2 separate regions of the Homo sapiens genome follow, and region 2 is linked to region 1. The links are contacts of gene promoters, found by promoter capture Hi-C in human tissues and cell types (Jung and others, 2019). All regions are on one chromosome and are shown on one strand. The core of a region is centred on a gene start or on the middle of the fragment in contact, and the rest is flanking DNA. Distances in the headings are between cores, read along the strand shown.

Evidence for each region. Contacts are between HindIII fragments. The study calls those that stand out against the background at their distance.
Region 2: a fragment that was not itself captured here is called in contact with the fragment with the promoter of IPO5 in region 1 in 2 of the 25 tissues and cell types used here (H1 embryonic stem cells and mesendoderm cells).

What each region holds. Positions count from the first base shown.
Region 1 is chr13:97,949,860-97,955,107 of GRCh38, reverse strand. IPO5 (importin 5) reads right to left here and starts at 1,433. Exons shown (of 29, transcript NM_002271.6): 1 at 1,392-1,433; 2 at 910-989. The HindIII fragment of the contact is 20,218 bases long and covers 1-5,248 here.
Region 2 is chr13:97,872,151-97,877,206 of GRCh38, reverse strand. No RefSeq gene overlaps it. Among named protein-coding and RNA genes, the nearest start is that of IPO5, 79 kb to the left of the region's middle. The HindIII fragment of the contact is 5,327 bases long and covers 1-4,760 here.

The DNA of each region.
Region 1 (5,248 bases), core at 184-2,683:
ACAGATGCATTCTGCCATAACTGGCTACTTTTTTCTATATTTTGTAGAGACAGGGTCTCACTATGTTGCCTAGGCTGACCTTAAACTCCTAGGCCCAAGTGATCCTCCCACCTCAGCCTCCCAAAGTGCTGGGATTATAGGTGTGAGCCACTGTGCCCGGCCGGTATTTTTCATTTGGAGGTTTATAATTGCATTCCAGAGTTTTAACTCTACTGGAAAGCTAACACAATGTTCCAACACAAATCTGTCTCGCATACTAGTTAGTGTCTTTGAGGTTCCATCACAGACAAATGACGGAAGAAAGCAAAACTGTTTAGGAAGGTCTAAATTAAACATTCTATAATAAAGGCATTAGCATTTGACAAGTCCCTGGTATCTAATACTTTATAAGATGACAATGAGCCTTTTTTACCCCTAGTTAGGGGATTAAGTTCTAGGAGAAGAAGTTAACCAGGTGGTTCCTTAAGTAAGTAATCTTTTGACTACTTAGGGATTGATTTTGTTTTCCCATAATGAAAATGAATTCTGTTTTCCTTCATTTACTTGACTTTAGTGATCTCTGAAAACTAAGATAAAATATACTCGGCCTCTGAGGGAATACAACCATAATGTACAGAAGACAAAATAGATACTCTAAAGATTTTAAATGGAACATCTTGGGATTTGAGAAATTAAAGGCAGTGAAAATCATACTGCTTCTAAGCACTTTTTATTCTCCCTATAGGAAAGCAGGGTAGATAATCCTGATGGGTTGGATTTCAATTAATTGGTGAATAGAAGGTAAAATGATCAAGAAACAGATATCATAATTATAGGAGAAAATAGCAGGAGCTTTTTGTTTTAAAGGAAATAAAGAATAGAATTCACAGTGAAGAGAGACAGAACAAAATCTGATAATTCTAGACTCACTTGAGTGCCGCAAGTATCCTGATCAGGGAAAACAGTTGTGCCTACACATGGGTCCTGGAAAGGCTTCTCCCCGGAACCACCTAAGTGAAATAAAAACTGATTTCTGACTGTTTCAGGATGGCAACACAGACCTTTAGGATAATAACCCACATTCTTTTGGGCAACTCTAATCAAGTGATGCCTCCTTAAGGATACAGAGTTAGTCCCCAGCTCACGTAAGGCACAATACCAAAGAACAATGAGCCATCATGAAATCGTCATTGTTTCATACTTGGTTTTTGTGTAGAATGTTCTCCAAATCATTGTCTCTGACGTTTCCTTCCTCTTGGGTATGACTGTGGTGACGTCAGGAGACGAGCTAAAGGGACCTCCTGGATCTCACAGGGAAACTCTTTCCCTCCAGTATCACGCTAAATTGTTCCTCAGTGCAGATGAAATTCTTAAATGGTTTCATCTGAATGTGAGGTTTTGGGATGACTTACTGTGGTCAGAGCTGTTCCCGGCTGCTCCAGTTGTGGGAGGTCATCAATCCCACAGTTCTGACCTCCTGGCTCAGAGACGTCACCGTGGAGACACCTGGCTGCTATTGTGACACGCAGGAGGTCAGCTGGCTCCTGCTAGTGGGCATTTACACTGCCCACCCTGCCAGCTTCACAGGCCCACACTGCACAGGCATTTAGACGTTACAGGGTAGCCCAAGCTCCCAAAGCTGTGGAAAGGAAAGGGAGCTATCTATTGGCCTTTGAGAACTCAAAACCCATGTTGCTGGGGGCCACTCAGATTGGGTACAAATGTGTCATCAAATTCAGTTTTGAAACTGTCTGAGTAGCTTCTTTACCCACAGATTTTGATTCTATTCACTACTCAATACTGAAAAGAGAAATTGATCTCTCAAATAGACAAAGATAAATTTGTATGGAAACAACAGGAAATTCCATATTACATACGTTTATGTCAACTGGGTTTGTGATTAAATTACTTTTTCTTTTATTTTAGTTGACATGTAATAATTATAAATATTGGCTGGGCGGGGTGGCTCATGCCTGTAATTCCAGCACTTTGGGAGGCCGAGGTGGGAGGATCATTTGAGCTCAGGAGTTCAAGACCAGTCTTGGCAACATGGCAAAACCCCATCTCTATGAAAAATGCAAATATTAGATGCGTGTGGCAGTGCACACCTGTAGTCCCAGCTGCTCAGGAAGCTGAAGTGGGAGGATCATCTGAGCCGGGGGAGGTTGAAGCTGCAGTGAGCTGTGATTGCACCACTGCACTCCAGCCTGGGCAACAGAGTGAGACCTTGTCTCAAAAAATAAACAATAAAAAATTGCAGATATTTATGGGATGTAATTAAATTTTTATATGACAGATTAACATCAATTTTGCCCTGTATTCTCATGGATCTCAATGCCCTAGCTTTGTACATTTAGCTTTTCTTTTTTTTTTGAGACAGATTCTCACTCTGTTGCCCAGGCTGGAGTGCAGTGGCGTGATCTCGGCTCACTGCAACCTCCACCTCCCGGGTTCAAGAAATTCTCCTGCCTCAGCCTCCCAAGTAGCTGGGATTACAGGTGCCCACCACCATGCCCGAATAATTTTTGTATTTTAGTACAGATGGGGTTTCACCACGTTGGCCAGGCTGGTCTTGAACTCCTGACCTCAAGTGATCCATCTGCCTCGGCCTCTCAAAGTGCTGGGATTACAGGCATGATCCCCTGCGCTGGCCTAGCATTTTGTTGTTTTTATTAATTCAGATCATTAATTAAAGCCAAACTCCATTTTTGTAATTATTTATTTCTTTTTTTTTTGATACAGAGTCTCTCTCTGTTGCCCAGGCTGGTGTGATCTCAGCTCACTGCAACCTCTGCCTCTCTGGTTCAAGCGATTCTTCTGCCTCAGCCTCCCAAGTAGCTGGGATTACAGGCACGCGCCACCATGCTCGGCTAATTTTTATATTTTTAGTAGAGACGGGGTTTCACCATGTTAGCCAGGATGGTCTCGATCTCCTGACTTCGTAATCTGCCCACCTTGGCCTCCCAAAGTGCTGGGATTACAGGCATGAGCCAACGCACCCGGCCTATTTTTGATTTTTAAATTGTTTCATAGGACATGGGCAGACTCCTTTGTATAGGTCACATTTTTTTCTTGGTAACGTGTGATGTCTAAGCACTTTCTAGTGTCACCCCGCATATCCTGAAAGTTCTTCAGCACTATTCCTTGCTTCTTCGTCCTCATCCTATGTCACTGGTTCTTTTTTTGTTTTTGAGACAGGGGTCTCATTATGTTACCCAGGCTGGTCTCGAACTATGGGCTCAAGAGATCCTCCTGCCTCAGCCTCCCAAGTGGTTGGGACTGCAGGAGCTCGCTACTGCACCTGACTTCTAACATTTTGGCTTGTGGGCAGGTGTCTTCATGGCATTTTGCTCAAGCATCTTACCAAGGGTCTGATACCAGAATTTACATAGATTCAGAATCAGCGATTGAATGGTTACAAGGTTACTGCAAAATGTATGAAGAACATTTTATTTAGTTACGTATTTGTTTATTTTTTAGTTCTTTTTTTAGAGACAGTCTTGCACTGTTACCCACCCTGGAGTCCAGTGATGCAATCATGGCTCACTGCATGCCCCACCATACTTGGTTAATGTTCTAAAAAAATGTTTGTAGACGTTGGGGGAGGGTCTCACTGTGTTGCCTAGGCTGATCTTGAACTCCTGGCCTCAAGTGAGCTGGGAGCACCTTGGCCTCCCAAAGTGCTGGGATTACAGGGGTGAGCCATTGTGCCCTTCCTGAAGAACATTTTAAAAGAACAAATCCGAGAAGTTTCTCCAGTGCCTATGACATTGACCAGTTGCTTGGTGTATTAGTCTGTTTTCATGCTGCTGATAAAGACCGTGGCTGGGCACAGTGGCTCATGCCTCTAATCCTAGCACTTTGGGAGGCTGAGGTCAGGAGTTCGAGACCACCCTGGCCAACATGGCAAAACCCTGTCTCTACTAAAAATAGAAAAATTAGCTGGGCATGGTCGTGGGTGCCTGTAGTCCCAGCTACTTGGGAGGCTGAGGCAGGAGAATCACTGAACCCAGGAGGTGGAGGTTGCAGTGAGCCGAGATTGTGCCACTGTACTCCAGCCTGGGTGACAGAGCAAGACTTGGTCTCAAAAAAAAAAAAGAAAAAAAAAAAGACATACCTGAGACTGGGTAATTTATAAAGAAAAAGAGGTTTAATGGACTCACAGTTCCATGTGGCTGGGGAGGCCTCATAGTCATGGTGGAAAGCAAAAGATACATCTTACATGGTGGCAGGCAAGAGAGAATGAGAACCAAGTGAAAGGAGAAACCTCTTATAAAATCGTCAGATCTCGTGAGGCTTATTCACTACCACAAGAACAGTATGAGGGAAACTGCCCCCATGGTTCAAATATCTCCTACCGGGTCCCTTTCACAACACACGGGAATTATGGGAGCTACAATTCAAGATGAAATTTGGGTGGGGACACAGGCAAACCATATCACTTGGTTTTTTGGAAGGTGCCAGCAGACCTGACTGCACTGGCTGATCCTTGGGCATTCCAAACCTACACCAAAGACAGGATTTAGGGGAATATACATTGATTTCTTCATCAGCAGGCACAACCAGTGGAATACTGAATAGGAATCACCATGGTGGATAAGGGTAGGCTAGAAAGTCACATATAGAGAGCACTATGGTGGATATTTTGCATTGTGGCTTTATTAGTCCGTTTTCACAGTGATGATAAAGACATACCCAAGACTGGGCAACTTACAAAAGGAAGAGGTTTGTTGGGCTTATGATTCCACATGGCTGGGGAGGCCTCACAAACATGGCGGAAGGTGAAAGGCACATCTCACATGGCGGCAGACAGGAGAAGAGAGCTTGTGCAGGGATACTTTTTTTTTTTTTTTTTCCTGAGACAAAGTCTTGCTCTGTCGCCCAGGCTGGAGTGCAGTGGTGTGATCTCAGCTAACTGCAACCTCCTCCTCCAGGGTTCAAGCAATTCTGCCTCAGCCTCCCGAGTAACTGGGATTACAGGCACATGCCACCATGCCCGGCTAATTTTTGTATTTTTTTTTTTTTTTTTTTTTTGGAGACTGAGTCTCACTCTGTCACCCAGGCTGGAGTGCAGCGATGCGATCCTGGCTCACTGCAACCTCCACCTCCCGGGTTCAAGCGATTCTCCTGCCTCAGCCTCCTGAGTAGCTGGGATTACAGGTGTGTGCCACTATGCCCAGCTATTTTGTATATTTAGTAGAGATGGGGTTTCACCATGTTAGCCAGCTGATCTCGAATTCCTGACCTTTGGTGATCCACCTGCCTTGGC
Region 2 (5,056 bases), core at 848-3,347, 79 kb after region 1:
TTTCTTTTGGCTAAGACCCTTTAGTGAATGTCTTATTTTCACTTAAAAGTATGCAATTTCTTTCCCAGCTTCTCCAAATTAGCAAATGTTAAATAGTGCGTTGTTAATAGGAGGTTTGACCTATCTATTCAGCTGTGCTGTAATTTTGTGAATAGGGCTAAGATTTAGGAATAAATTTTTAATTGTTTGGTATATAGTAATAGTTAAGTAATAATTTCCTCCAAAGGCAGATTTCCTTTTCTAATGAAATCTAGAGTGACTTTTCTAACCTAGCTTACTTTGAAAAAATACACACTTATTTTAGAAGAGTTTTACATTTACAGAAAAATTACTCTCTTACATTTACAGAAAAAAGTCACTCAGCTAATGAGTGACTTTTCTAACCTAGCTTACTTTGAAAAAATACACATTTATTTTAGAAGAGTTTTACATTTACAGAAAAATTACAGATATAGTACAGAGTTCCTATATATCCTACCCCAAGCTTCCTCCATGACTAACATCTTACATTTCGTGTGGCACATCTGTCGTAATTAGCGAAGCAATATCGATATATGGTTATTAACTAAAATTCATACTCTATTCATATTTCCTTCATTTTTACCTAATGTTCTTTTTCTGTTCTATGGTCTCACCCAGAATCCCGTATTACTTTTAGTCATCATATCCTCTTAGGCTCTTCTTGGCTGTGACAGTTTCTCAGATTTTCCTTTTGAAATGGCCTCACTGTCTGGAATAGCACCCGAGGTTCATTGTCTCATGTCCATGGAGAACGAGGGCAGGCACACACAAAGGGTGAGGTTGATAGCAGAGGTTTCATAAGCGAAAGAAAGAGAAGAGCTCTCTTCTGCAGAGTGGGGTGCTGGAAAACGGGTTGCTTGATCTGTGGTGAAATGCCGGGGGTTTTATAGATGAGCTGGTAAGGAGGAAGACTGGTTAGACCAGGTGTGCCATTTGCATAGGGCGTGAATATCTGGTAGCCCCCACTCTAATCTTTTATTATGGAGGTAGGTTCTCTGCCTGAGTTGCGCCATTTTTTTATTACCGTACACATGGTAACAAACAAATGGAAGACGGAGCCTCCATGTTGGACACTCCTGGCTCCCAGGTAGCTGTTTTCTATTGGCACAGCTGCTGGCATTCTCCTGTGAATGCTGGCATCCAGCTTGCTTATCTATGTTTGCAGCTCGATTTTTCAGGCTGCTCTTTCTTAGGAAAAAAATAATTTCTTGGGCTGCTTTTTGTTAGAAGGGAAGCTCTGCCGAGGACTCTTTTGCCCTACTATCTGCCTAAATAATTTCTTTCTACCCCCTGTATCACTTGTTTTTGTTGACCTTGACGATTTTGAGAAGTACTCCTCAGGTATTTTGTAGAACTGGGATTCTGGGCAGAGTATGTACATGTATTAATGGAATTCTGCACAGGAGACTTGTCTCTTCTCCCCATTTATTTATTTATTCAGTCACTTATTTATGCCATTATAGACTTGTGGATACTTATTTTGTGTTTTGTGTTATAATCTAATACTACTTAATATTGTTGCTCAAATCGTTCTACCTTCAGGCACAGAGAACTCTTTCACTTTGTTCCTGTACCCCTTTGATATACCCACATCCTTGTGGAGTTTTAACATTTTTCTTTACTTTTTTGAGCACTTTCTTGATTTCAGGCACTATAAGATGCTCCAGCTGAGACAGCCAAATACAAAGGGGACCCCGGAGAATCTCCAACTGGCCTGCGCACTGGGAGAGTGGGGTGGAGCCGGGGAAGTTTGCCCCGTTTGCAGCGGGGAGGAGCCTGGCCCCTCCTGTTCCTGTGTGGTAACCTGGGATTCAATCCGTGAGGTGGAGAGCCCGCCTGTTAGCAGGACCTCATCTCACTTTGCTGTGTTGTTCTAACTTTTTCCTTTTCACCCAATAACTTCCATTCTCCCTCACCCTTCAAAGTGACTGCGAGCCTATTCTTTCCTGATCTTGTGACAAGAACCCGGTTTTTCCTCCAACACAGTCCTATCTTGTATTGTTTCCTGCTCTAGTCCGAGATTCAGCCATTTCTCCAAGGATCCTTGGTTCCTTTTATTGGAGAATGGCATTAGAGACAAAGATCTGGGCATTAGGTGTGCTTGTGGCTGCAGGGGTGTCATTACTTCTTGGCCCTCTTAGCTGACGGAGCAAAGAGATACGTGAAAGGAAAATAAATCTCGGGACTCCCAAATCACTAAGCCAAAGGGAAAAGTCAAGCTGGGAACTGCGTCAGGCAAACCTGCCTCCTGTTTTATTCTGTTGAATTTCACCCTGGCAACGTAAGTTGATAGCTCATCTTCACAAGTATGGGAAAAGGACAGAACTCAAAGTCATCCCTCTGCTCACCAAATGCCTATCTGATTGCTTCTTCGGCCCTATTGTTTATTTATTTTACCGTATGTAAAAATGCAGATTCACAGAGCCAGACCTCTACCTTGCCCCCGACCTGTAAATTTTGTATTTGGTGAAAGGCTGATCAAAAGCTCAAAAGAATGCAACCCTTTGTCTCCTATCTACCCACACCTTTAAAAAATTTCTTCCTCTTTCCCCAGTATCTGCCCTTTTCCCTTTAAATATTACAACCTTCAAAATTATCTTTGGAGAAAGTCACAGACCCAGTCTCCCAGATGCGTGTCCTTATCCTTGGCAAAATAAACTTCTAAACTGATTGAGACATGTCTCAGAGACTTTTTGGTTTACAGATATATAAGCCATGTGTTTATAGACATTCAAACTGCCATTGAAAAATTCTGAGAAAATTATGACAAGTGTAAGAGATTTGACCTAACCAACTCCATCTTGCCTCTAACCCCTGAGCTGCCCTTGTTCATTCCTGGGCATAGGCTGAACTAACTTTGGGAGGAACTTAGTTTATAGTTTAACTTTGAAACAAAGACAATAACAGCCCTTCCCGGAACAAACCCCCTTCCTACCTGAGGACTAGACTGGCTTTGTAGGACTAACAAATTAGCCACAAGATTAGAAATGACGATTTAGGAGTCATGCAGCTGGAGGCTAAAAATTCGGACCCTCTCCAAATTGCTCCTGAGGATAACATCACTATTGTAAAACCTAAGACCAGTGCTTGAGATATTTTGCAGACTGCAGACCCTGTACTTGATGGATAGGCTGATGCCACCCAGATGGATAAACTGGCTCATCTGGTCTTGTGGCCCCAACTCAGGAACTGACTCAGTGCGAGAGGACAGCTTCGGCCCAACCAATCAGCAATCCCAACTCACTGCCCCCTACCCACCAAATTGGTCTTAAAAACCCCAATCCCTGAGTTTTTTGGGAGACTGATTTGAGTTACAATAAAACTCCAGTCTCCTGTACAGCCAGCACTGAATGAATTAAACTCTATATTTCAATTCTCCTGTCTTGATAAATTGGCTCTGTCTAGGCAGTGGGCAAAGAGAACCCATCAGGCGGTTATAAATTTAGAAATATTTCTATATATAATCATCTGTACCTATATTAAGCTAATTATGAGTTCATACTGATGTCTTTAGCTCTAACCCATTACCACATGAATCATTCCAGCCACCTCCCCTTGCTTATCTGTAAACTGCAGCTCCAATGGTGAGAAATCTGGCATCTGCCATCTGCCATCCATTTCTTTCTCTTTTCTTAGAGAGAGGGTCCCTCTCTGTTGTCCAGGCTGAAGTGCAGTGGTGTGATTATAGTTCACTGTAACCTCAAACTCCTGGGCTCAAGTGATCCTCCTCCCTCAGCCTCCCAAGTAGCTGGGCCTACAGGTGTGTGCCACCATGTCTGGCTAGGTTTAAAATGTTTTGTAGAGACGAAATCTCATTATGTTGCCCAGGCTAGTCTTGAACTCCTGGCCTCAAGCAATTCTCCCACGTCAGCCTCCCAAAGCTCTGGGATTATAGATGTGAGCCACTGTGTCTGGCCTGTCATCCATTTTCTTAATTGTTCAATTCCAGAATACAGGTATAGTGGTTTTGGAATTGTTAACCTGTACCCCTGTGTAAATCTACATCATCACCCAAAGTACAGTCTTATATACAGTTCCATTTGCCTTTAGTCTTATAGACTGGTCATTTCTAAAGTTACTTAGGTCAGCACCTGATGTGGCTTGGATCTATGTCCCCACGTCACTCTCATGTTAAATTGTAATCCCCAATGTTGGAGGTGAGGCTTGGTGGGAGGTGATTGAAACATGAGGGCAGTTTCTCATGCGTGGTTTAATACCATCCTCCTTGGTGCTGTTTTCATGATAATGAGTGAGTTCTTGTGAGATCTGGTTGCTTAAAAGTATATGGCACCTTCCCCCCAACTTTGTCCTGTGCCAGCCATGTGAAGTGTCTTGCTCCTCCTTTGCCTTCCGCCATGATTGCAAGTTCCCTGAGGCCTCCCCAGAAGCAGAAGCTGCTACGCTTCCTGTACAGCCTGCAGAACCATGAACCACTTAAACTTCTTTTCTTCATAAACTACCCAGTCTTGGGTATTTCTTTGTAGCAGTGTGAGAATGAACTAATACATACCCTTTCCCTCTACCCTTTCAGTTGTGTTGTTTCCTACATATGTAATAGAGTCGGATTGTTTTGTTACATTGTGCATACCATCCTGTGATTCCCCTATATGATTTTTTAAAAATTTGTTTACATTAAGGTTCATTCCTTGTGTTGTAAAGTTCTATGGATTTTGACAAATGTATAGTGTTATGTATCCACCATTGCAATATTATATAGAATAGTTTTACTGTACTAAAATATTCCCACACACTTCACCTATTCAACATTTCTCTCTCCCCAATCTGCAGGCAACCATAAATTTGTTTACTGTCTTTATAGTTTTGCCTTTTCCAGAATTTCATACAAGTGTAATCACATCGTATCCAGCCTTTTCAGGGTGGCATCTTTTACTTAGCCATATGTATTTAAGATTCATCTATTTCTTGGCATGGCTTGATAGTGCATTTCTTCTTAATTACTGGATAGCATTTTATTGCATGGATACCACAGTTTGTCTATTCATCCACTGAAGGACAGCTTGGTTGCTCCCAGTTT